6 separate regions of the Homo sapiens genome follow, and regions 1, 2, 4, 5 and 6 are each linked to region 3. Evidence: promoter capture Hi-C in 16 types of primary human blood cells and fetal thymus (Javierre and others, 2016). All regions are on one chromosome and are shown on one strand. The core of a region is centred on a gene start or on the middle of the fragment in contact, and the rest is flanking DNA. Distances in the headings are between cores, read along the strand shown.

Region 1 (4,025 bases), core at 623-3,122, 1.3 Mb before region 3:
CCTTCTCTGACTCACTTTCTGCAGTCCTCATTCATGCCTCAAGGATCACCTCCCAAACATACTACCTGCACAAAGCCCTCATCTCAAGCTCTGTTTTCAGGGAGTCCAAGTGAGGCATAGAGCACCTGTTAGGATTAAATGAGATAATCTGTTTAACACAATGCCTGGCACAGAGTACAGCTATATCAGTGTTAGCACTTATACGTTACATAAAAAAATAAAGTGGCTAGGCAGCTTATGCGGAATATTCTTAGAAAACTGTAGGTCTTTTCCCCAGTTATTCTAACAGTAATTAATTTTCATAATGATGATACTTTGGGGTAATACATAATGCCAAGGGACTATTAGATTCCCTGAAGAAAAAATAACTCTGTAAGCCAGAGTATTTCTTAATTAGACAATTCTCAGTTGAAAAAAATAGGATGTTAAAAGAAGGTTCACCTTGGCCACTAACGTGTAGGCCATATCTGAATATGAATGCACTCAATGACCGTATCGAAGTAAGAACAGAGTAGAGTACATAGAGTATCTAAGGACAGATATGCAAATCCAAAGTGGCCCCATCTGTAGGAAAGAAACTGCAAGTTAGTTGGTGGGCTAAATGAACATCTGGAGCTCAAGCACCAGTCTGATTCATCTGAGGAGGAAAGCCACTGCTGCATCCCAGCTGGGTACTGCTGAGCTCTTGGCAGACCTGCCCGAGGTGAGGTGGCTCTGTGCATATGGAGCTGCTGCTACAGGTTGGATCAGAGATGCACAAGGAAAAAAGCTTATTACGGGCGGAATTGTGGTGGAGGGAAAGGGTTAATGCTTTCATAGTGTAGTGTACCAACGTCTCAACATACAGTGTCAATAATACCATAACATAGTGATGCACTTTCCCCAAATAGTTGTAAATATTTAGCAGATTTGTATCCCAACTAGTGTGCCACATTAGAGCTCTGTAACCAAAAGAGAAATGAGTCATGGTAAATAACCTGGGAATCTGTGAATAAAATAGGAATTGAAATAAGTATCAATGCCCAGGGCAGCATCAAAAGCCTTTTTGTGCAAGACGTATAAAATAAATGGAAATGAGCTTAGATTCTCCATACATGAGGTTTCAGAAGATAAAACAGCTCCCTTTTTCTTAGCCTCAGTTTCAACCCATGTTTTCCCCCATTTGTGCCAAAGGTATCAGTTGATCAGTAGAATAAAGGTTGGAAACCTGTATAGAAATGAAACTGTGATCTCCAGCATTGTTTATGCGAACCTCTATAGCACTTCATGTCCTGGGGATTCAGGGGCTTCTTATTGCCAGATTGAAATGAGTGAATGGTGAATGAATACATAAGAGATACAGCACCTGGAGCAGGGGTGCGGTCTCTGTCGTGTATGAGTGATGAAAGATTTGCTTTCAGTGGAGTTATTGCTGGCTCTTATTGATTTCCTTGGAATGACTCCTGCAGAGTTAAAAGGCATCAAACGCAAGGCCTTTGATCCATCTCCTTCAAATACCCAAGCCTCCTTTTAATGCACTAGGAGTGTAAGTTCCAAAGTTGGAGGGGAAGTTCAATACTGAGAAACGCAGTTCCAGGCATGTGTGTTGGGCTTGAAGAATAATTATTCATCAGCTATGTTGATCAGAACTTAGTGATGAAATCTTTCTGCCTCCCTTAAATTTCTCTTTATATGTGTATTCATTGCAGTCCATATACAAAATGTAATACACACACAAAGGAGTTACTAGAATAAACACGTGGTATACATTCTAAGGCAACAGGTGAGAAAATAGAACACACGGCATGATGCTCTTGCTATATTAACCATATTACCTGTGCATCTAACTTCTCTTCTCTCTTTGCCTGGCCCCTCTCATTCACATGCATTGCCTCAGGGGAGGGGACGAGGCTTTCATTGCCTCAAGGGAAAGCAGATATCCTTTGAATCTCTTCCTAGATTTGGGTCTCAAAACCTAGGTGTTAGGAGAACAGAGGGGACTCTTGGGGTTAGGCCAGTGAAGTTTTGGTCGTAATTGTCAAGGAGTGGGGCATGCTCCAGGCATCTACTGGGTAAAGGCCAGGAATGCTGTTAAATACCCTCTAATGCACAGGACAGCCCTCACAACAAAGAATTATCTGGTCCAAAATATCAGTAGTGCTAAGGTTGAGACACGCTGGGTTAGCCAAAAGTTTGAGGTGGTTTGAGGAGGGGGGGACCATCTCCCCAACCCTTACCTCTGTCCTCCATGCAAACCCAGGTTATTTATGGAGAAAACAGAAGAAATTTAAAGAGAGTTGTGTAGGTCATGAGACATCTGCTCGGTGGAAAAATGCAAGCCTGGCTGCTTTTCCTCAGCTGGATATCTGCTTCAGGGATGGGCTTGCTGATCGGCCCTCTGAATTTGGAGGTGTGAGAAAGGAATTGGAGAGAGATGACAGAGTAAACAGAGAGGGCATCCTGCACACCCATCATGTGGCATGGTGAGAATGGGTGATTTTCTCAATGTCAAGGAGACACCACAGAAACTCGACTTGAAAACTGGCCCCTGGCCAGACTTGGAGGAGGCTGTGGGTGGATGCTGAGAGGGGTTGAAAGTGGTCAGGCCGGCACTGTGTCTGGCACCAGAGATGTGTACACTGAGGGCCACATGCCACACCTCTGGAGATTCCCCACCAAGTACCAATGAGAGAACAATGGCTGCACCAATCAAGGAGAAGATGTTTCCTCCTTTTGCCCATCCTTCCTCCTAACTCCATGGAGGCAGAAGGGGGACCCGCGAGAGGAAACATCAAGCTATAGGAGGAGAGGATTCTCATCCACTCATGGTGAGTTCCTTGGGCTACAGATCAAGCCTGAGTTGGGGGAGAGGAAGAGCATTACATTAGGCATCATCGTGAACTTTAAAACTGGACCAGACTCTTCAATATCTGAAAGTAACCGTAGAGTACTAGGATCTCCCTGGGCTACAGTTAAGGAACAAGAAAGGAAGCTTCCTTGGATTAGTTACCAATTCTAAGTTCAGACTCTACAGTAAATCATGACGACAGTTAGGGGAGCCAGCCTTGGAATAAAGGTGACAAAGAGGACAGCACAGTACAGACAGGGCAACATGTACCTGATGATGTCACTCAGCTGCTAAGTCACATGTCTCTACCTTTGAACTTCCAGTTAATGTGAGACAATAAATTTCATGTTGTACACACAAGTTTGAGTCAAAGTTTTACAATTTTCTGCAGAAAGCACCCTCATCATACTTGATATGTGAGCTAATTTATTATTTGCAAAGAAGAACGCATCAGAAATTGCTCCTGTTTGGGGATACAATCTCAATAAAATAAAGTAATCTTCTAAAAAAATTCACTGTTTTCCTGCCTGGGATTTACCTTTTTATGCTGTATCTGAAGTTTTATATTGACTTAATGAAGAAAACCCCACAAAGGAACCATGTGTGGTTCCTGATAAGAAATGACTGATTGATTATACGTGTCTAATTCTATTTCTTCCTGAAATGCCACTAAAACCACATTTAAGGGGTTAAAAAGAAATGTCATAAATCCAGAAGGATGCAAGGAATAGGAGAGAAGACAAAGTGCTCTCTGGTTCCAGGTGAGTCTACAACAGCAACAAATTTTAGAAGCTGGAAAGCAGATGGAAGGTGGTAACTGACTGGGCAGCAGACTTAAGAACTTCCCTGGAGCTTTTTTTCCTCTCTTTTTTTCTTTTCTTTTCTTTTGTGTCCTTTGGATCTTCATTTTTAAGGGAAAGAAACATTTTCTACTATCTCGCTGAGGATATTAAGGATAATTCTTCTCTATGGGTTTGTCTTAGTTTCCAGTTTTTTTGCAAGAGGTTTATTTTATTTTTTTGCCTGACAGTAATAATTCTTAGCTAAGGTATTGGCTTCTCTAGGTGACTTTGATATGAAAGCTCAGGTTGGGGAGGTTGATGGCTGTTTGAGAAGTAATTAGAGCCCTGGCTAGATCTGCTGTTGGTGCCACACTGCTGGGCCAGCTGCCTCTCCTTAGTCCAGCTTCCCCACTACC
Region 2 (4,451 bases), core at 1,822-4,321, 1.1 Mb before region 3:
CTTTTAAAGGGGCGCTCGCATTCCTGGGGATTCCTCCGGCCAATGGGCGGCGGCCGGGCAGGAAGCGGGAGGTGGGGGCCAGTCTGGGCTCCTCTCTCCGCCCCCCGCTGCCTGGCGCGCAACTTTCCAGCTAGAAAGTGAAGGGGGCGGGGGTCGGGGCTTGGGAGCACTAGAACTTCTCAGAAAAGTCGGTGCCCGCCCACGCAGCCTTGGCGCGCACGGGCTCGGCGCTCGTACTCTTGCGCCACGCGGGCTCGGGGTGATCAGCAAGCATCCCGAAAAGGGACGGGGCTGGGGAGACCACCTAGGAGGGCCCGCGGGGTGGCGCAGGGGCTTTCGGGCGAGCTGATCTCCCGGAATGCCTGGTTGATGGCGAGAGGTGGATACTAGAGACTGGGCCCGTTTTGTAAAAAGAAAAATGGGCCGACGGGGCGCAGGGGACACCAAGAGAGCCATTCGTTAAAGTACCTGCCCCTCGGGCCCTCGCTGACTCTCCTCCACCGTCCCCGTGGGGTGAGGACACGCGTCCCCCGAGCGCCTGTCCTGAGCTGGCCCCACGCCCGCCCCGGAGGGAGGTGAGCGCGGCGTCGGCGGGGCCGGCAGGTTGGTGCGCCGCGTTCGCCTTCGCTGCCTTCGGGCCCTTTCCTGCCGCGGCTGCCAGGGGGCCCACAGAGACGCCTCTCCCGCTGCCGCGGCGCTCCCTCGGCCGGCCGCTTGGGGGCGGTGTGCGTATTCTCATCAAGGGGCCCGGGGAGGACAGCTGCTTTCTACTCGAATTTTAAGGAAACTTACTCGTATCCAGTTTCCACAAGCCAAATTGAAATTGTGTCTTGAAAAACAGTTTTTGTGCCCACTCGTGCTTCTTAACGTGACTCCTGTTTGGAGAATTTGCAGAACCATCTGGCTCCAGAGTCTTCAGCTATTTACAGAGCAGACCCATAGAGTAATAAATTACTCTCTGCCTATTATTGTATTTCCCTTTTTCCTCCCTAAACGTTCTTTTCATTTTTCGGCTCCTGAACCCGAGGTGTGGGTTACATTTCTGTGGGTGCACACATTGCCATGAGTGCCGCTGCCTAGTGCTTCTGTCATTGAAGTCTGGTCTCCAAGCCACTGTCCCAAGCCAGCATGACTCTAGCTTCCTGGAATTCCATTCATCTCTTCGGGATGGGACGTCAGCCGCCTCGCTCCCTCTGCTGTGATCCAGCGCTATCGGGCTCGCTCCGAGGCCAGGGCATAGGTAGAAGCTTGACCAAATAAGGATCTCAGCACGGGCAGGGGGAAACCCCTGGGGTTCACCTCCCATCTTAGCACTTAAACCTGGCAGGACTCCCGACTGCTGCAAACAGCCAAGTGTTTACATTCATCAAACAGCAGTTTCGCTTTTCTTGCGTGGGAGTGTTGTATGACAAGATGGTGTGTGTGTGTGTGTGTGTGTGTGTGTATTACGGAAAGAGTGTTTTCTAGTTACTCAATATGTATATAAAATGCCTCTAAAAGATGACCGGTATGTTCCTAAGGCACATGTTTGTTGGATTTCAGATGTTGGGAGGCAGAAAGAAAAGTTTCTACTGGTTGATGAATAAAATCAGATTCTTGTCCCGCAAATCATAGGTAATGATTCATCCAAGCAGATCTGAAGATTCTGGAATCGGCACCCATCCATCTCCCTCCCCTTCCTTCTCCTTCTACAGCATTCATCTTGCTCTTCGAAAAGTAATTGGGTTTTTTTTTTCTTCTTTCCACTTGCTCCATGATACTGGACAGTCAGAAATAGTTCTTGGAGGGATGGGCCGCTCATGGCTCTGGGCTCCTCTGGCCCACTGGATCATTGTGTACAAATCAGATGGGGGCTTGAGGGCTGCAAGAGGCCCACAAAAGCAGAATGCATCTTGTATGAAAAGATTATCTCCCCTAGGCTTAGCTGTGCAGACAGAGTAGAAACCAGCACTCACTGCCCCTTCAGGATTCATGCTGCCATGGCTGAGGGATTGTAGGAATGCCTCTGCAGATTTCTTGGAACTTGGCTTCTTTCAACAAAACAAGGACAACAGTTTCCAAACTTCATCATGCTTTACCAATAAGAAGGTGACCTATACGGTGGCAGGAAAGAGCTTTCTTATTAGAGAAAGCTGACAGGTATAGGAGCTGCTTATCTCAAACACAAAGCCCTTCCTCTTATCATGATACTTCAGTTGTTCTGGGTGGAAAGGAAAGGTCATAGAAGAGGGAGTGTCTGCGCCCCTTAACAGGAATTCACCCACATTCTTGCCAGCCAACATGTGCTGCAAATATTCCCCAAACCTCATATACCTCTGTGCAGCTTTGAGAGAAGCAGGGATGGGAAAAGGGAAAAGAAAACCTATCCCCTTTAATGTGAGGGCAATAGTCCATTTTGAGTGTGTCTCTACAACCTGGAAGCACTGTGATTTTAAGGCAATCAATTAACATGGGCCGAAGTGATGGACCTTTCAGGGAGCTGGTCCAGTTCTCTTTTTTGCCAAGTTGTCATCCTTGAGGATTAGTTACTGAAAATTGTAAGGCATATGGCATTTCACCGTAGGATTTCCTTTTTCTAAGTTTCTCTAATTGGAGGTGGGATTGACCTAAATACATTGGCAGTAAGTGTGAGGAAAGGGCTGTCAGTTACAGCTAGTTTTAAAATTGCGTGTAATTAAGGAGAGCAACATAATTGAGAAAAAATATTTTGTTTATTTAGCATAGAACAGCAAGGTGGGCTGTGATTTTGTGTAGGAATTTTTTAAGTGTTGCAAATTTTCAGTAGTGGAACATTTCTTACAAGTGTGAAGCAATGAAAAATCATTGTATTCTAGAATAGTCTAAAATCATAGCATCTTCAAATTGAAGACATCATAAATTCATTTCTCTCTGAATATGTTCCCTAGATCATAATTCTAAGTTGCTTTACTTTAACTGCATCAGAGGTCAGAGCCAGGAGGAAGTTACCAACAGATTTTTCTTGTCCTTCAATCAAACACCAATTCAAGCTCTCCCTTCTCCATGAGGTGTTTTCCATCTGTTTTATGCTGTGTGTTTTAAAGCACACATTATCTCTATCATAAAACTTATCACCTAACACTCTTTATTATTTAGTTTTTAAAAATTAGCTTTTATTTTTTCACATGTAAAGACCAGAATTTTTTTTTGGTGGGGGGTGGGATGGAGTCTTGCTCTGTCTCCCAGGCTGGAGTGCAGTGGTACAATCTCAGCTCACTGCAACTTTTGCCTCCCAGATTCAAGCGATTTTCCTGCCTCAGCCTCCTGAGTAGCTGGGATTCCAGGCGTGTGCCACTACATCCAACTAATTTTTGTATTTTTTAGTAGAGTTGGGGTTTCGCCATGTTGGCCAGGCTGGTCTCAAACTCATCACCTCAGGTGATCCACCCTCCTTGGCTTCCCAAATTGCTGAGATTACAGGCGTGAGCCACTGTGCCCAGGCAAGGACCAGACTTGAAGTGCCCAAAGCCCTGGGCTTGGGAAGAGAGAGTTCTTATGTTTAAATTTCCAAATCTCTTTGTGTACAAGTCAATTATGGCACAGAAGGACGGGACTACTCACCATTTTCCTACCAGCTCTACCATTTTACTCAGTTATCCCTTAGCTCTTGGTGGGTAAATGTGGTGAGTGACTCACAAACATTGTACTCCTCTTCAAAGAACTGAAGCAATACTTTTATGGAATTGATCTCAGTGGGCAGGGGTAGGCATATTGGTTAAGGGTAAACACCTCCTCCCCTTTTTCCCACTTCCCTGCCAGTGACTGATTTAGGAATTGGCATGTGATTCAAATCTGACGAGGTTTGCTGAAGGCTTCCGGGAAAAGTCCTTTGTTGCTTTTAAGGAAGAGCCATGTGAAATCAGGCTTTCTCCATCTCTTTTGGATACCAACAAGAATGCCGATAAGTGCTGTTTGGTGCTATTGGCCACTGGGGAGCCAAGTTTAGTGTGAAACCAGTGTTGGAGGAGGAAGAACAAAAGCATAGAAAGAACTCGTATGTCAGGTCACATTTTTGAGCTGCTAAATCTCTCAACTCTTAAGGGAATCCTACTTCTAGATTTCTTTGGTTATGTGCTTATTATTTAAGCCAAGTTGTTGTTTTCTATTTCTTAGAACCGTAGACATCATAACGGCCCCTTTCCCTGTGTTTGGATGGCCTTTTCACTCATGCTTTGATTAAACCTCTTCTTATTCCTTTAGAATAAGAGAAGTAAGGATAGGTCATAGGATAAACACATTGTAAAGGCTCTTCACCTATATTACTAAGATGCTTTCCAGAAAATTTGCACCATTTACTGTCCTGCCCATGGCATGAGGCAGCCCTTCCCCCTATCTCTTTGCCTGCAGCCACCCTAGTTCCACACACTCTTAACTGCAGGCTGGTAAGGGTGAGCGTTATTTCCGATTTTATTGTGTCTTTGTATCCCTCTTTT
Region 3 (4,303 bases), core at 1,357-3,856:
CTTAACTACTTAATTTCTATTCACCCTTCTTATTTCAACTCAAATGTCACTTCCTCAGGAATCTATCACTAACCCCTAAGACTTCTTAGATCCTCCTGTTACATCACCCTGTTCTTTTCCTTTGACACATTTATTATAGTTTATAATTGTTTTTGTGATCATGTCTGTTTCTCCACTAGATTATAAACTCCACAAGGGTAGGAACCAAGTCTATTTTGCTCACCACTGACTCCTCAGAACGAGGTCCAATATACAGTGTGTTCAATAAATATTTAAAGGAAACTTCTCTCCATAGTAGTGTTTCTCAACTGAGTCTGTGAATCTTTTTAAAAATATGCAGGTCTGTACTGTACCTCTGAAGATTATGATTCGGTCAGTCTATGGTATATACTAGACTGGAACAGTTTTTCACAAGTTCCACACGACTCTGATGTACTTCCAGTGTTGAGATCTACTATTCCACAAAATCAGAGACTATCAGAACTGAAAGAGACTTCTAAAATCATCTGCTCCAGCCCTCTCTTTTCACAGATGAGAAAACTGACTGACTCCTAGCCTATCCTGTTTTCACCTGTATCACTAAATTGTCCTTTCACATAGATTTTTCCCTTCAAATGCCTCCCATTAATTTATTTTACATGACAAACTGAAGTACCTTTGCTGATATCCTCAATACCTTACAACAGAAAATGCATTATTCACTATCTACATGGATATTTGAAAACACAGTGTTCCATTACAACACATATTGTAAATAACTACTTTTTTCACATCGTATTATCATAGGAGAATTCAAACTTCAAAATGTTGCCCTCATAGTTATTCCAGGAAAAACTAATTTTGGAGTGTGTAAACTGTTTTACTTTCCATGTTGAATAATCTGACTAATTTTCCTTGATAAAAATCAAGATTATAGCAATGAATTTTCTAAAACACTTATAATATGAACAATAAGTTCAAGAAATGAAGAAAGAAGAAAAGCACTGCCTTTTCCTTTTTCATAAACCATTTATGAGTTCCCAATATTCTTACCTGAAGTACTTGGGAGCTCAAACTGTTTGGAGCCTAAATAATTCTACTAAGTATTTTCAGTTCTTGTTTTGGTTCCTTCTTAACCAAGTTAAGTGAGAACTTCCAAGGGACTTCACAGAAGTAAAAATGCCCCCTAAATAATCAATGGCACTGTTCTTTCGTTTGACAAATATGTATTCACGATCTACTAAGTGCAAGACTCCGTAACCCTGGGTCACTGCAAAGTAGGTATTATCAGGGTTCAACTAAAGAAACAATTGATAGAGGGGCAAATGCAGTTTTAGAGAAGATAAAGTGGGGTGTGGGATTGGTTCAAGCTTCATAATAACGCTGCAAAGGCACAGCTTCCCCTATCAAGAAACAGCAGCACGTAGCAGGGCAAACAAATGTGCAGATGGCTCCAAGCTCTTTATTTAATGTGCACTGTATGACTCAACTATCTGGTCCTATGCTTACTGCTGTGGACTCTTCTCTAAGCTTTTCTTCATTCATTTACTCATTCATTCAACCACTATTTACTGTAAAAGACTCCGTTCTAGTGTGTTGCTGGGAAAACATCGGTGAATAAAATATGCAAAGCATCAGTTTTCCAGGAGCTGACTTGGGGAGGAGGAGGAATAAAACGAGGGAGAAGCAGAGTTCAAGAGACAAATGAATGGGCAGGACATGATAATTTGGGATGGGGACAAGAGCTGTGTGGAAAAAAACAGGATGAGGTTGAGGGGGAGATTACGAACCACCACACTTGTTAAGTATTAACATTACTCCCACCTCCACCCTGAGTTCTCACAGCACTTACCATTCTGCACTGTAAATACCAGCCGGCAGCAGACTTGCAGCCTGCGCGACTATGTAAGCCAAGAGTAATCTGAAAAACTATCCTTTTCCCTTGCCTAGGGGAAATTTACAAACGTAAATATGTGTAAATTAATATACAAGCTAATATACACGTTGACGAACGGACGAAATGGTTGAAAGAACGAACTCGCAATGAACTACAACACTTTCTCCGGTCAAAGTAAAAGCCATTCGCTCCAGAGCCCCAAGTAAGCCACAAGTTGTACATTGTAGGAGACAACAGTCCTCAACAGCAGCTCAGGTTCCAGCACCTCCCTCCGGGCGCCAGAACTACGTCAACACAAATATCACCTGCGGGCGCGAGCTAGCCCAGAAAACCGGTGCTAGAAGGGCCGCTCCGCGCCACCCGGCGGATTCCTGCAACAGAGTTTCGAGGCAAGAAGTTTCGAAGAGGGGGCCACGAACCCCAGCTCTCCGGCCCTGCTCCACCCCCCAAATAGATTTCTCTCCCGCCTCCCGCTTAACTCCGTCGGCGCCGGAGGGATCGAGGCAGGGAAGGAGGCCTACACATGGCCGCCCAGGCCCACAGAGGCCCAAGGGAAGTAGGCTAAGCAGCCAGGCCAAGGAGAGGTTGCGTTTTCAGGGAAAAGGCGTCTCCAAAAGCACTCACCCCAGCGCCTCCAGTGTGTCCAGCACGTCTCCCTCCATCGTCGGTTGGGGACCCGGCTCCGGCCCTCTCATGGTCCTTTGGCCCAGAGCTGTTCGGCGCTCTAAGTAGCCCGCCGGAAACTAGCGTCACCGCGCCAAGGTTCCGGTCCGGGTCTGGCCGGTAACTGCCTGAGAGCACAGCTGAAGAAGGGCGCAAAGGTTCCCAGCCCCGAGGCAATAAACACTTCATAGTGCCTAAAACCGCTGCGTGTAACGATAATAATTTTTTAAAAGAATAGTAGAAATAATAAATAATAGTAATAAAGAGTTCTCTGTGTTGGGACTTTTCTGTGTGTTCAAATAAATTTTAGCAAATATCGTGGTATCGGGTTGATCTCAACCTATCCGATTCCAGACCTTTTTAATAACAGAAATCTGAAATAAAATTATAATTATCTTCAGCTAAAATTAGTAACTAATATCACATGCCTACACATATAATTTTTAAATCAATATACACGACGATGCTTCAACTTGAAGGAAAAAATGAAGTAATTTATAACAAGGTAATATTTTTCTCCTTATGAAATGCGGAAGACCAATGAAGTGATCAGATGCTTGCATCTATCTATGTAGAATCCCCTCAACTGCATATTCAGATGATGTGCTTCATTGCTGACAAAGCATTAGTTGTATAAGCAACAAACATACCGCCAGCAAAGTAAGGTAGTTGATGTGGTTTTCCAAAATTGTGGCGAATTCTCTGTAAAGTTCCAAACAAACAAAACATAATATACCCTCTGTGTACTATCCATGAAGAATTCAATCTCTTATCTAAAGGATTTAAAAAATGTATTTTAGGGTTCATATGTAAAAGGTACTAAGAGTATAAGGTTAGATCATTATTAGCAGGCATGTCACCTACATGAATACTCTAGCAGAACTGTTGGAAATCCTGCATGAAGTATAACTATTGATCCCTTGTATGGACCTGTCCCTTCCATTGCAGACTACATAGCATTCGTAGCCCCAGTCCAATAAAGACCAGTAATGCTCTCGCCTTCCTAATTATGGTTACAAACAAAAAGCATACCCATAAATGTGTAAAACACTCAAAGGTAAGCTGTAGTAGTCCACTCTCATATTGCTATAAAGATATACCTGAGACTGGGTAATTTATAAAGAAAAGGGGTTTAATTGGCTCATGGTTCCACAGGCTGTACACGAAGCATGATGCTGGCATCTGCTCCACTCCTGGGGAGGCCTCAGGAAATGGACAGTTGTGGCAGAAGGGGAAGGGGGAGTGCAGCTATCACGTGGCCGGAGTAAGAGGAAGAGAGAGGGTGCAGGGAGGCAGGGAGGTGCCACACACTTTTTTTTTTTTTTTCAGTCTCGCACTGTCGCCCAGGCTAGAGTGCAGTGGCATGATCTCAGCTCACTGCAAACTCCGCCTCCCGGGTTCACGCGATTCTCCTGCCTCAGCCTCCCGAGTAGCTGGGATTACAGGCGCCCACCACCACACCCGGCTAATTTTTGTATTTTTAGTAGAGACGGGGTTTCACCAGGTTGGTCAGGCTGGTCTCGAACTCCTGACCTCGTGATCTGCCACACACTTTTAAAAAACCAGATCTCATGATAAACTCACTCACTATACAGTGCCAAGGCAGGAATGGTGTCAAACCATTCAAGAGAACTCTGCCCTCATGATCCAATCACCTCCCACCAGGTCCCTCCTCCAACATTGGGGATTATAATTTAACATGAGATTTGGGCACAGACACAGATCCTAACCATATCATAAACTCAACCATACATTTGTATAATG
Region 4 (4,440 bases), core at 911-3,410, 1.2 Mb before region 3:
GCCTCGGCTTCCCAAAGTGCTGGGATTACAGGCGTGAGCTACCGCACCCAGCCCAAATGCTTTTTTTACTAAAGGCACATAAGCAGAGAATAAACAGTTTGCTTGTACCTCATAGGGGCAGCAGAATAACTTCATTGCCTTGCTTTTAGGCCTCTATCTTCTTTTTGGCTCTGTGTTACCATTTTGTCTGCAAGGTTTCACACAGGGCACCATGTTAGTCCAATATATTGTGACATTGTGCTCATAGGATCCTGGGAGTAAGATACATTAGGTACCACTGATGTCTTGGTGTAAGATGCACATGTACTAGTGGAAAGGAGACATGGCGTCCGCATGACAGTGAAGCTTCATTCTCTATGCCTCACCATTTTCACAGTAATGATCACTGTGTTTTAGATACTTTATTTTGTTCTGAGAAGTAGCTCTAAACAGGCCACATGCTAGTGTGGTGAAGACAATGAAGAAAGGGGAAAATGGTTTGAGAAAGTTGCAGTTCTTGGCCAAAAAATGAAATTGCTGGATAAATCAAAGTAGAAAGTTACATTGACAAATAGGGCTGAGTTATGAAATGTATAATATGCTCTATCCAGGTGTTGCCAGATGAAGAGTGTTCAGCTGTGTTATACAGTGCTGAGAGGTCCAGTAAGATGGAGACTGAGAATGAACAGCTGCTGTAGAAATGTGCAGGGCATTGGTGTGATAGACAAGAGCAGTTTTAACGGAGTGGTGGACTAAACCCTGTTTGGGTTGAGTTTAAGAGACAATAGAAGGAGAGGGATTTGGTGATAGTAAGACCAATTATTTTAAGAAATTTTATTGTAAAGAAAGTAAGAGAAATGCAGTGGTGGGCAGAGAGAGGAACGGGATCAAAAGAGGGCTTTTCCTTAATATTGGAGAATAGCAGCTTTTTGTATACTCATGGGAAAAATCCAGTAGAGAGGGGGAAAGCAGTGACGCAAAAGAGAGTGGGGAGATTGCCAAAGCGATGACCTTGAGTAGGCAAGACAAGGTGGTCTCTTGTGTGCAGGTAGAGGGGACAGCCATCAAGAGGAGCACAGGGAGTCCGTTTAGTGACATGAGGGATGGTGGGGCACTGGGTACAGGTGCTGGTAGATGGGTGGTGGAGCTTGTGGAAGAACTGAGGGCCTATATGTAAGTTTCTGTATCTGCAAATTTGGAGGCTGTGAGAATCTTTAGATCGTTTAGGAATGTTGTTGGTTTACTCTGCTGTTGGAGTTTTTTCACCTATTGTCCAGTGTGTATGACAGCAAAGTCTGGTGTTTCATTTTACATGAAGATGATATAATCAGCGTCTATTACAACATTTTAATATTTAGCACTTAAATATGAACTATAGGTTGAAATAAATTAGAATAATAGTATGTGATGGCTTCAGTTTTGAAACGGAATGTTTAAATCCCTAATGAATCTTCAAATTTATATATTTATTCAATTAACTACGTCTAAAGATTTTCCTCTCCACTGGCTTCACAGTCCATATTGCAAGTTTTAGTGTAGAAGTTAGTTATAATACAGTAATTATACTGTGCATTAATAGGTTCATGGTAATTTATAAATGCAAAATTGATTTTAACGGGTCAGTCATGAAGAAGTCACCTGGCTTAATTAACTGTTGAATTCAGTTAAGAAATGCATTTTACGAATAAAAAAAACTAGATTAAGTTAATTAATTGTTTGGACATTTAAAAAGTATAGCCAGGCCGAGTGCAGTGGCTCACACCTGTAATCCCAGCACTTTGGGAGGCAGAGGCAGGCAGATTGCGAGGTGAGGAGATCGAGACCATCCTGGCCAACATGGTGAAACCCCGTCTCTACTAAAAATACAAAAATTAGCTGGACGCAATGGTGCGTGCCTATAGTCCCAGCTACTTGGGATGCTGAGGTAGGAGAATGGTTGAACCCGGGAGGGGGAGGTTGTAGTGAGCCGAGATCGCACCACTGCACTCCAGCCTGGCGATAGCAAGATTCCATCTCAAAAAAAAAAAAAAAAAAAAGAAGTATAGCCTATGTGGGGAAGATTTTGGACATTAAAAATGATAATTATAGGAGTGAAATTTATGTCTAGCAAAGGGAAGTACAATTCTGAGTCCATATCTCTGTGTTTTCATTTTTATGCTCCTTGTATTTCGACCTATCACCCTTCAATTAATTCTTATTACCCGATTTGAGAGAAATTGTGTTTTTGCCCTGCCTACTTGAAGTTAAAACATTAATTTGAAATTAGATTAAAAGGAAATAAAGGCTGCTCATTATTTTGTCTGACTTCCAAAGACAGTTATTTATTTATTTTTTTTTGAGACAGAGTCTCACTCTGTCACCAGGTTGGAGTGCAGTGGCCGATCTCGGCTCACTGCAACCTCTGACTCCCTGGTTCAAGCGATTCTCCTGCCTCAGACTCCTGAGTAGCTGGGATTACAGGCACACGTCACCATGCCCAGCTAAGTTTTGTATTTTTAGTAGACACAGAGTTGCACCATGTTGACCAGGATGGTCTCGATCTCCTGACCTCGTGATCCACCCTCCTCGGCCTCCCAAAGTGCTGGGATCACAGGCTTGAGCCACCATGCCTGGCCAAGACAGTTATTTCTATATTACAAAATCAGAAGTTGCCGGGCGCAGTGGCTCACGCCTGTAATCCCAGCACTTTGGAGAGGCTGAGGTGGGAGGATTGCTTGAGCTCAGGAGTTCAAGACCAGCTTGGGCAACATGGCAAAACCTCATCTCTACAAAAAAATTAAAAAATTAGCCGGGCATGGTGGTGCGTATCTGTAGTCCCAGCTACTTGGGAGGCTAGGTGGGAGAATAACTTGAGCCCAGCAGGTGGAGATTGTAGTGAGCCAAGATTGAGCCACTGCACTCCAGCCTGGGTGACAGAGTCGGACCCTGTCTCAACAACAACAACAACAAAGAAAATCAGAAGGTATAAAAATTTGAAGATTTAAAACAAATTTTCAGCCAAAATATTTTAGCATATTTAATTAGGTGATGTTTCCGACAACCACCACATTGAACATCTATTGTACTCGTCAGTCTTTATATAATCCATAATTCCATTCTAAATAAGTGACTCAGCACCACCATCTAGTGCAGAGGCCAGAGCTTGTGCTAGCTCATTGGAAATCAAAGGAGAAAATATTAACATGACATGATTAGAAAATGTTCACATGAAAGATGGGGGCTCTTTTTTGGTTTGCTGATTTGAAATATTTATTTAAATAAAGTAAATAAGGAGAGCTTTCCCTGTAAATACTTATGAACAGAAATGGTTTTCTGCCATGTTTGTGAGGCTTTCTATTAATATATATGTACTTGAATAGGTTTCTATAATTAAACCTAACCACAATCAAAGACTGTGATTATTATTCAGTTCTATTTTCACAGCAGACCAAATTAAACCTCTATGTCAGACTTGTAGTGAATATCACAGCAGTAGGCCCAGAATGCAGGCTTTTTATTACGCTTGGGCATTTTTGCAAATCTGAAGCATTTTTTCCATGGTGAGTGGACATGAAGTCTGGGAAGAGGTGTCTTCGTTACTTCGCCTCTGCCTGTAGGTGGGGTGAGTCATTGCCTATACAGGGTGATATGGAGAATACTTTCAGCACCCTTCCTTTCAACCAGTTTGTCTGTCTGTCTGCCCTTGCTGGGATCTGAGGTTTCTCACATTGGGGAGCTCTCCAGGAGTTAAAGCATTGCTATCTGCTGTGCCCAAATCATAAACAAAGGTTCATTAATTGCTTAAACCATTGTCATACAAAGTCATGTGGGGAGTGCGCGCTCTGGAAGGAACAAGACATCGGGGAGAGAAGAGGAGTTGGGCCTAGGATGGGCCATGGCCTAGGACCACTGGTCAGTAAGGGGACAGACTAAGAGCACTGAGTTTTTAGGGGTGCGATGTCACTGCAGAGGGTGGAGGAGCACCCAAAGAAAGCATCATGTAGTCAACAAAGCTTTGCCATGTGTGCATCTTATACCAAGGCTCTGTGCTAGGTATGGGAACACAGAGATGAGGAGGACCTGGTGCCAGCCCGAGGAGCTTACATCCAGCAGGGAAAGTAGATGCAGAGGGTACTGGGATGGCACAGCCTGATGCCCCAGGTTTGGGAGACACAGAGGGCAGCCGCCACCCACTGGTGAGGGATTCTTGTTTATACACTTGCCTCAGATTTATGAGTTGAGAGGGGCTCCCCTTACTAGGCTGCTCTGTGGTATCACATTTTCAGATGCCGGATAGAGTGTGGAGGGGGCATGTTATGGTACCATGCTGCTGCCAGGTGCTCCCCCTCGAAAAAGGAGTTTAACTAACTCTTGTAAGCATCTGTCTGAAGACAATTAGTGTGAAAAGGCCCTAACTTTATAGTCTGGCTTCATTTTTTTTATTAGTTCTGGGCCCTGGACCATTCAATTTCTCTGAGGCTT
Region 5 (4,074 bases), core at 3-2,502, 1.3 Mb before region 3:
TTGCTAGAGATCTCTGAAGTATTTTAAAAGTCTGTCCCATCCCATTACTGAGGGGTCACTTTTGGGTTTTTTTAGAGGCATGTTGCAAAAATCAAAACTCTTTTACATCGCCAGGAGTTTTCCCTTAGTTTCTATCATTTATCTAATGAATACAGGTAGAATTCAATATTCTTTGAGACAAATACATCTAGTGACAGGGTTGCTTTTTGATAGAGGTTATTCTTTTTGTCTTTGTCACGTTTCTCTCTTGTGTTTCTAGCTCCAAATATAGAAATGCATATAAACACAAAACATCAACATCATAACCAATTAGGCTTTTTCAAATTTGAGAATACTTTTTTCTAGGTGCCTTTTCTGTGAGACTCAGATATATGATACTTCTGCTCTTGGATGCTTGGGTTAAATACTCAAAGAAAATCTGGTAGTCTCTTTCTACTCTGATATGCAGAGGGTAGAGGGAGGAAATCACATAACTGTGCTGACTGACACAGGCAAGGATTTTGGTTTTTAATTTCTGTTGGAGTCTCAGCATTGTTTAGCAATCTCTTGCATTCTCCAAAATGGTGATTCCAAACTATTACTATGTGCTTCATCTCCCATCTTCTGCAAGACCTTCACTGTCTTGGTTGGTCTTCCTTTCCAGAGAAAATGAATCTACAGGGTAGGAATTCCTTTTACATTCATTTCTTCTGTTTCTAAGCTTCATCCTGACTGTGTTCATTCATCCTCTGCCTCTTGCCTCTAACTTTAGATGGAGGGAAGGTACTCTTATTCTCTGAGGCCAAAATCAGTAACATCCCATCCCTTTCACTGTGTTCCTGGCTGTTGGTTTGTTCGTCATTCCATTTTTTCATCTAGAGCTTCAATCTCTCTGGCTCTTTCCCTTTAACTTACCATGTTTAACTCTTCTAGTCCTAAAACAGAATCAAAAAGCCATTGAACCAATGAATAACCAACAGAACATACAAATAAGCCTTTTTCCTCATTTTTTTTTTTAATCTTACTCTAAAACAGACACCACTCAGTTTCCCTCTTCTCCTTAAAGGTCAGACTTCTTGAAAGAATAGTCCACATCTCTTGGTGCTACCTGGTCAACTTCCATTTACTTCTTAACTTTTCAGTGTCTGTATTTTCTACTGTCACGCTGTGGAAGCTGCTTCATAAGTGGTCCTCCTAAATTTGAAATCTAATGGCATACCTCCAGTTTTGATTGTACTTGACATCACTGTAGAATCTGACACAGTGACCTCTCATAGCATAGTGCAATTTTTACTGGATTTGTTATTCCCTGCTGGTTTTCTTCTTTTTCTTTCCTTCTTCCTCCTATTGTTGAAACTTATTCCTTCTTTTATATGTTTTCTCTGCTTTAGTTAATGGTTTCATCACCCACCTAGTCTCCTAAACTAGAAATTGAAGAGCCAGCCTCAGTTCCTCTGTTATTGTTCTTTTACACTTCTTCCTTGAGTTCCCCAAATGAGTATTTGTTCTGCCCTATCTGTATCTGACCTGTTTTTTTTTTATCCCCATTATTAAATGGTTTGGTCTCAGCATTTCTCTATCAGATTATTCAAACAGTTTTCAGTCTCGCCTCCATGGTGTCATTATTTTCCTGCAAGATCATTGTACTGGTTATCTAGTGCTGTGTAACAAATTACCCCTAAAACATGGCAACCTAAGCCAACAAACATTTATAATCTCACAGTTTCTGTGGGCCAGGAATCTGGGAGTATCTTAGCTGGGTGGTTCCGACTCAAGATCCCTCCTGTCAAATGGTTGCCGGGGCTACAGTCATTTGAAAGCTTTATTGGAGTTGGAGAATCGGCTTCCAAGCTCACTCACATGGTTGTTTGCAGACCTCAGTTTCTTGCTGCCTTTGGGTTGGAGACCTTAATTTCTTACTACGCAAACCCCTCCATAGGATGCGTGTATGTCCTCACAACATGGTAGCTGACTTCTAGAGCACTTAGTAAGTGCTCAACAAATTGAGTTATTATTAGTAATCCTGTGATTACTAGACGTTACTGCATCAACAGGAACATGGTTTGTGTCTCTTATATTATCATTTATATGTCAAAGAATTTCTTCAGGTTTCATACATCTGTTAGCTATGCATAGGTCTTATATATCTTTTTATTGTTATTACCCTGATTGGTGTTTAGCCCATCATATTTATAAAGGGTTATTAATGACATAGACGAAAGTTAGTGACTTTTTAGACATTTATAATTTGTTTTCTATTTGTACATTTAACTAAATTATCTTATTAATTTTAATTATTTTTACTTGTTTACCTTTTTTTTAGTTTATGAACACATAACCAGGAAATAATGTTAATTTTTGTGTCCTTTTTAACAATTATTCCTATGCTGAGAGCTGTAAGAACTTAGTGTTGAAATTTATTGAATGCATTTCAATATATATTTAAATTATCATAAATTTTTATTTCATGTCCAACATATTTAATGTTTTAAAATTAATGGATTTAAATACCAAATGAGTCTTTTATTCCTGGGCCAACCCTTCTTGGTTATGGAAGATTATTCTTTTAATTTAGTACCAGATTTAAATGAATGAATTTATTCAGATTTTTTGCATCTATATTTATAAGCAAGGTTAGTTGTGTTTGTGTGTGCACACACAGGTGTGTGAAATGTTTGTTATGGTATAGGGGGTGAAGTTGAGGGTGGAGAGTCGATGTATGTGTGTTTGCTTTGTCAGGCTGTGTGAACTTCATAAAATGAATGGGGATGGCTGCTCACTTATTTCTATGATTTGAAACAGTTTATATAACACAGGGATTATCTGTTCCCTTCAAATTTGAAAGATTTCACTGGAAAAACCATCTGGTTCAAATAATTTCTTGGAGGCACTTCTCTGACTCTTTTCTCAGCTGCCTTCATATTTGCTATTCTATTTCAGGTTACTAGCTATTCTGGAGTCAATTTTGGCAATGCATCCATGTCACTAAGATTTTAAAGTATCCACTTCATGAAGATTTAAAAATTTACTAACATGCAATCTCAGATAGTCTTTTAAATAATAATTCTTTTTCATATTGTTTGTACATCCTCTTTATCTCTAATTTTGTTAATGTTTTCTCAATCTTTTTAACCTGGAAGTTTTTTCTAAACTTTTTATTTGGGCACAGTTTTACATTCATAGAAAAATTATGAATATGGTACAGAGATTTCCCCTATACCCACCCCCAGTTTCCCTTATTATGAATATCTTGCATTTGTATGGTTCATTTGTTTCAACTAGTGAACCAATATTGATATATTCAGGTTTCCTTAACTTTTACTTAATGTCCGTTTTTTGTTCCAGAATCCCATCCAGGATGCCACATTCCATTTAACCCTCATGCCTCCTCAGTCTACTCTTGGCTATGACACTTTCTCAGACTTTTTTTATTTTTAATGACCTTGACAGTTTTGAGGAGTACTGGTCAGGTATTTTGTAGAATGTCCAAGAGTTGGAATTTATCTCATGCTTTTCTCATGATTAGACTGAGAGTATGTGTTTTTGGGAGGAAAACCATGGAGTTACAGGGTCATTTTCATTACATTACATCATATTATTAACATAACATTGCTATTAATGTTAACTCTGTTCACCTGGCTGAGGAAATATTTGTAAGATTTTTCCACTGTAAGTTACCATATTTCCCCATCCTTTGCCACACTCTACTCTTTGGAAAGAGATTGCTATTTGCAGCCCCTGCTTAAGGAGTGGTGCTGGGAAAACTTGCTAACCATAGGAAGAGAGATAAAACTGGATCTCTAACTTACCATGTACAGAAATCAACTCAAGATGGACTAAGGATTTAAATATATAAAAATTCTAGAAGAAAACCTAGGAAATACTCTTCTGGTTATTGGCCTAGGCAAAGATTTTATGACTAAATTCTCAAAAACAATAGCAACAAAAACAAAAATTGACAATGGGAACCTCATTAAACTAAATATACTAATCGTTATTTAGAAAATGATGATGACTTTCTTTTCTTCTCCAGAATTTTGTACAAGTCCTATATTTTAAAAATGAATATTGAGTCTCATAATATTGTGGTCATGG
Region 6 (4,102 bases), core at 455-2,954, 1.3 Mb before region 3:
CACAGGCAGGTGCCATAGAAAGCTTTTTTTTTTTTCTTCAAGAGACAAGGTCTCGCTTGTCACCCAGGCTGGAAGTACAGTGGTGCAATCATGGCTTGCTGCAGCCTTTACCTCCTGGGCCCAAGTGATCCTCCAACCTCACCGTCCCCAGAAGCTGGGACTACAGGTGCATGCCATCACACCAGCTAATTTTTTAATTTTTTTTAGAGGTGTGGTCTCACTGTGTTGCCTAGGCTGGTCTTGAACTCCTGGCCTCAAGAGATCCACCTGCCTCAACCTCCCAAAGTGCCCAGATTCATAGAAGGCTCTAAGTAAAGTGCTGTGGTGGTTTAGAGCAGAGAGAGAGAGAGCATATCCAAGGAGTATCCAGAAAGTCTATTTCCATAAGTGAGGGGCAGGAGAAGGAAGAGGAACTAGGGAAGGAGGCAGAGGGATCAGAGACACAGAAGAAAACCACCATTATGTATCACGAGGCTGAAAACTGGTGGCCTACAGCAGTGGTCCCCAAGTATTTTGGCGTCAGGGACTGGGTTTGTGGAAGACAATTCTTCCACGGGCCCAGAGAGGGGGATGGTTTTGGGATGATTCAAACATGTTACATTTATTGTGTACTTTATTTCTATTATTATTATATTGTAACAAAATAATTATACAACTCACCATAATGTAGACTCAGTGGGAGCTCTGAGCTTGTTTTCCTGCAACTAGATGGTTCCATCCGGGGGTAATGGGAGACAGTGACAGATCACCAGGTATTAGATTCTCATAAGGAATATGCAACCTAGATCCCTTGCATGTGCAGTTCATGATAGGGTTCACACTACTGTGAGAATGTAATGCCGCTGCTGATCTAACAGGAGGAGGGAGAGCTCAGGCGGTAACATGAGTGATGGGGAGCAGCTGCAAATACAGTTGAACTTGGGCCTGCCGCTCACCTCCTGCTCTGGGGCCCGGTTCCTAACAAGCCATCTACCAGAACCGTCCATGGCCTGGGGGGTCAGGAGCCCCTGACCTACAGGACAAATTAAGCTCCCAGATGGGTCTGCTTTTGCTTACAAAGGGTTTAATGATTTTTTTTAGCCAACATTTAAAAATTAGGTAAATTCCTATAAAAATCCAAATTTCTAGTTCTCTCTTGAAAAATTCAAATTAGAAAATATGTCAGCATTAGACCTAACTTCTTGCTTGACAATTACCGAATTGAGATGAATAGCAACTGCTCTTTCTATGGGGCACAGATTCTCCGGTTTGCTGCAGTATCCACCACTCTATATTGTATGGCAGGCCCTAAGGCCCACTTCATGCATTTATGTTACTTGTTCAGCCTTTGCAGAGATCGTCAATACATTTTTGAATGCCTGCTTATTTCATAGGAGACACTGTAGTGGTTGATGTAGTGTCCAGACTAGTATGAAGCTTGATCTCTGACCTCAAGGTAGCTTGTAGGATACCAGAGGATATGATGTAAACAATAGAACAAGTTGTGGAGTAACTGTGCAATGAAACAAGAACCACCACCAGATGGGCACTGATCAGATGAAAAGTACGGAAAGTGTATGCTGCGGGAGCACAGAGAAAGGAAAGGTTATTTGATGAAGGCATGATATTTTAAAAATTCCTTTGAAGATTTATCTTTGTTGGTCAAGAAAACAGTTTTCTGAACAAGTTGAAACATAGACTTTCTGACTTATCTCTGTATGGTAACTATAAGGTAGTAAGTTGGTATGCATATAGATTTAAGATGATAAATGTGGTTGAGTCAATGTGGTTAAGTCAGAATAGTTTGAGGAACTCTAGGAATGTGGCTCAGAGATGAAGGAGGTGTTGGTCTTTGTGAAAAGGGCAGATAAGAAGTCTTCTTTTCCTTATGGGCTCACTGATTGTGATGTTCTCATATAGATGCTCTGGCCCAGCACTTAACTTTATGGCAATGTTTTAAAAGCAGCATTTGGCTTTTACGTATCTGATTTCCTTAGCATAAAACAAAGCTTGTGGTCACAGTCAAAAGAAAGAATGGCATATTACTGCTCTTTCTGTAGTGTGAATAATATGTGGTTGCAGTTTTTACATCTGCTTTTTATTTTCATTTTGTCTTAGCAAGAGAACTAATTGAAGCAATTTTTTCTTAAGATCTGTGGTTTAACTGTGCATACTTTTCTTTATCCATCTCCTAACCCTCAACAAATCAGTTCGTTCTTTCCACGTATTGTAAATCCCACCATAAAACTGAGTGATGTTCTATAATTTAGTTACCATACTTCTTATTCGTAGAAGTATCAGATTCCAGTTCTCTCCAGAAATATCTAAGATATAGGAGTTATGTAAGCATTCAGTTTCTTAAATCCTTAGCAACCGGATTCAATAGTAAATTCTATTCCATTTGGCTGTTATATACAAGTATATTTTATTCATCTCTCATGAAGTCAGCTTTACTAAATCTAGAATTCCAGTTCACCGTTAGATTTTTTTTCTGGTTGGGGAGGGCCTCAGAAATGGCTCTCCTTGACAGGAGGCATTGCTGTGTTCTTAAACTAACTAGTTTAATTGAATATAAAGGTCCTCCTTAATTTGATTTATTTTCTTATTCTTGAAATATTGATTCAATTGTACACAATTTGATAAGCTTGAGAAAAAATTAGCAAACATTTGATTGAGGAAAATTGTAGTTTGTATTGATCTCCTTTCTTGCCAAGATCATGCTATTATTGCTGACAGCAACAATTAATTTTTTTTTGATGTCTTCCTGTCTCAATATTAGCTAAAATTGAGGAAATACAGACCATTGTTTGACATGTAATTCTGAAAGATGTTTTATTATTGGGTCCAGGGATTTGTATAGTTCCAGTAAGGGCCATGGACTCTACTTGACCCCAAATGTACTTAGGTGTGTGTTGGTTGAGGGCAGGAATTTAGGATTTTTTAAATGTATGCTAGTCACAGGCACAGAAATCTTATTGACCATCTGCTCATTTCCAAAACCCATAGAAGCCACAGGAGCATGCATTTCTGGGTTTGAGGAACAAACAAGAAGTTACTTCAGAGCTCTTTACCTCCAGTGCCAATCTGTTAGATCTCCAGTTAAATCTGGGAAACTGCCCTTGCCACCTCCATTTTACAGATTACTGTGAAGTTTATATTTCTTTGCTTTCCTCTGTTAAGCTTCTGATGTAGTCAAGGTTTCCTTCATTTTATGGCATTATTCCAAGGTGATAAAAACAATCTGCCTGAAGTATCTTTTTCCCTGCTTTTGGTACTGCCAGACACACGATCCATCTAATGACAAGAAATAGCAGGAACCTACAGAAATGTATAGCATTGTCTCGAAAACATAGGACAAGCTGTCTTTATTTAGGCAGGTTTGTATTTTCCCAATCCTAACGCATGCCTTATTTGCATATCAGATAACTTACGAAGCTGCGGGTAATTTGCTGTTTTTGATTTTTGAAAATGAGTTTATTTTGCTTCAAAGATCCCTTTTGGCCTAGTCAACACCACAGATAATTTTTCTAAGGATAAACTCAGAATCTCTTGGCAACCAATTAGTCAAATCAACAAGTATCTATTGATCTTGGCCTCAGGGACAGTTCTCTTCTTGTGGCATATGGAGGAGAGCTTTTATTGAATTCTCCATGAAGGCATTCCTGTATGACCCAGAAACACAGAAATGATATGTTGGTCAGATAATCTGATTAAATATTTCTACTATGAGAAATCAAGATATTTCCTGATGATCACGAGGACAGATAGTACTGGTTGGCACTTTGTTGTGAAAAAAGAATCTTTCCTGGCACCACAGAGCTTTTTGCAGCTGGGCAATTTTCATCAGCATCAGTGGCAACCTTTTCTTGCCCCCTCTTGGCCTCTGCTTTCATCATACAGTATTTTTCGAATATTTGAACTATATGGTTATGCCATCGGAGGCCATGACTGAAGAAAGCTGTTATATATCCTTTGGGTCTAACTGTAGAGAATTATAGACTCATAAGCTATTAGAAGGGGAAATAACTTTCTCAGAAGTAACTGAGACCCAGAAAGAGGAGGTGACTTCCTCAAAAGTGCACAGCTGATTGGATTGGAAGCTAGAATCCAACCTTCGGGTGTA

Evidence for each region. Contacts are between HindIII fragments. The CHiCAGO score rates a contact against its expected background, and 5 or more counts as called.
Region 1: a contact is called between a fragment that was not itself captured here and the fragment with the promoter of FAM98B in region 3, in 2 of 17 cell types (non-activated CD4 T cells and naive CD4 T cells). The highest score is 7.7, in non-activated CD4 T cells.
Region 2: a contact is called between a fragment that was not itself captured here and the fragment with the promoter of FAM98B in region 3, in 3 of 17 cell types (naive CD8 T cells, total CD4 T cells and total CD8 T cells). The highest score is 9.0, in naive CD8 T cells.
Region 4: a contact is called between a fragment that was not itself captured here and the fragment with the promoter of FAM98B in region 3, in 4 of 17 cell types (total CD4 T cells, naive CD8 T cells, total CD8 T cells and 1 more). The highest score is 7.1, in total CD4 T cells.
Region 5: a fragment that was not itself captured here is called in contact with the fragment with the promoter of FAM98B in region 3 in 7 of 17 cell types (activated CD4 T cells, naive CD8 T cells, naive CD4 T cells and 4 more); the score reaches 13.1 in activated CD4 T cells.
Region 6: a contact is called between a fragment that was not itself captured here and the fragment with the promoter of FAM98B in region 3, in 3 of 17 cell types (activated CD4 T cells, total CD4 T cells and naive CD8 T cells). The highest score is 6.9, in activated CD4 T cells.

The regions. Positions count from the first base shown.
Region 1 is chr15:39,794,211-39,798,235 of GRCh38, reverse strand. No RefSeq gene overlaps it. Among named protein-coding and RNA genes, the nearest start is that of FSIP1, 13 kb to the right of the region's middle. The HindIII fragment of the contact is 2,202 bases long and covers 772-2,973 here.
Region 2 is chr15:39,576,606-39,581,056 of GRCh38, reverse strand. LOC124903470 reads right to left here and starts at 1,250. Exons shown (of 1, transcript XM_047433405.1): 1 at 63-1,250. The coding sequence starts at 739. The coding sequence ends at 305. RefSeq lists silencers at 438-487, 498-727 and an enhancer at 150-887. The HindIII fragment of the contact is 3,643 bases long and covers 1,250-4,451 here.
Region 3 is chr15:38,452,430-38,456,732 of GRCh38, reverse strand. It overlaps FAM98B (family with sequence similarity 98 member B), which reads right to left and starts at 2,606. Exons shown (of 8, transcript NM_173611.4): 1 at 2,501-2,606. The coding sequence starts at 2,571. RefSeq lists enhancers at 2,189-2,288, 2,349-2,458. The HindIII fragment of the contact is 3,660 bases long and covers 1,512-4,303 here.
Region 4 is chr15:39,630,667-39,635,106 of GRCh38, reverse strand. The region is part of intron 10 of FSIP1 (fibrous sheath interacting protein 1); the gene reads left to right. All of the region lies in intron 2 of LOC105370785 (a long non-coding RNA gene), which reads right to left. Among named protein-coding and RNA genes, the nearest start is that of THBS1-IT1, 47 kb to the right of the region's middle. The HindIII fragment of the contact is 3,626 bases long and covers 348-3,973 here.
Region 5 is chr15:39,751,989-39,756,062 of GRCh38, reverse strand. The region is part of intron 5 of FSIP1 (fibrous sheath interacting protein 1); the gene reads left to right. Among named protein-coding and RNA genes, the nearest start is that of FSIP1, 29 kb to the left of the region's middle. The HindIII fragment of the contact is 1,099 bases long and covers 703-1,801 here.
Region 6 is chr15:39,718,869-39,722,970 of GRCh38, reverse strand. The region is part of intron 9 of FSIP1 (fibrous sheath interacting protein 1); the gene reads left to right. Among named protein-coding and RNA genes, the nearest start is that of FSIP1, 62 kb to the left of the region's middle. The HindIII fragment of the contact is 572 bases long and covers 1,419-1,990 here.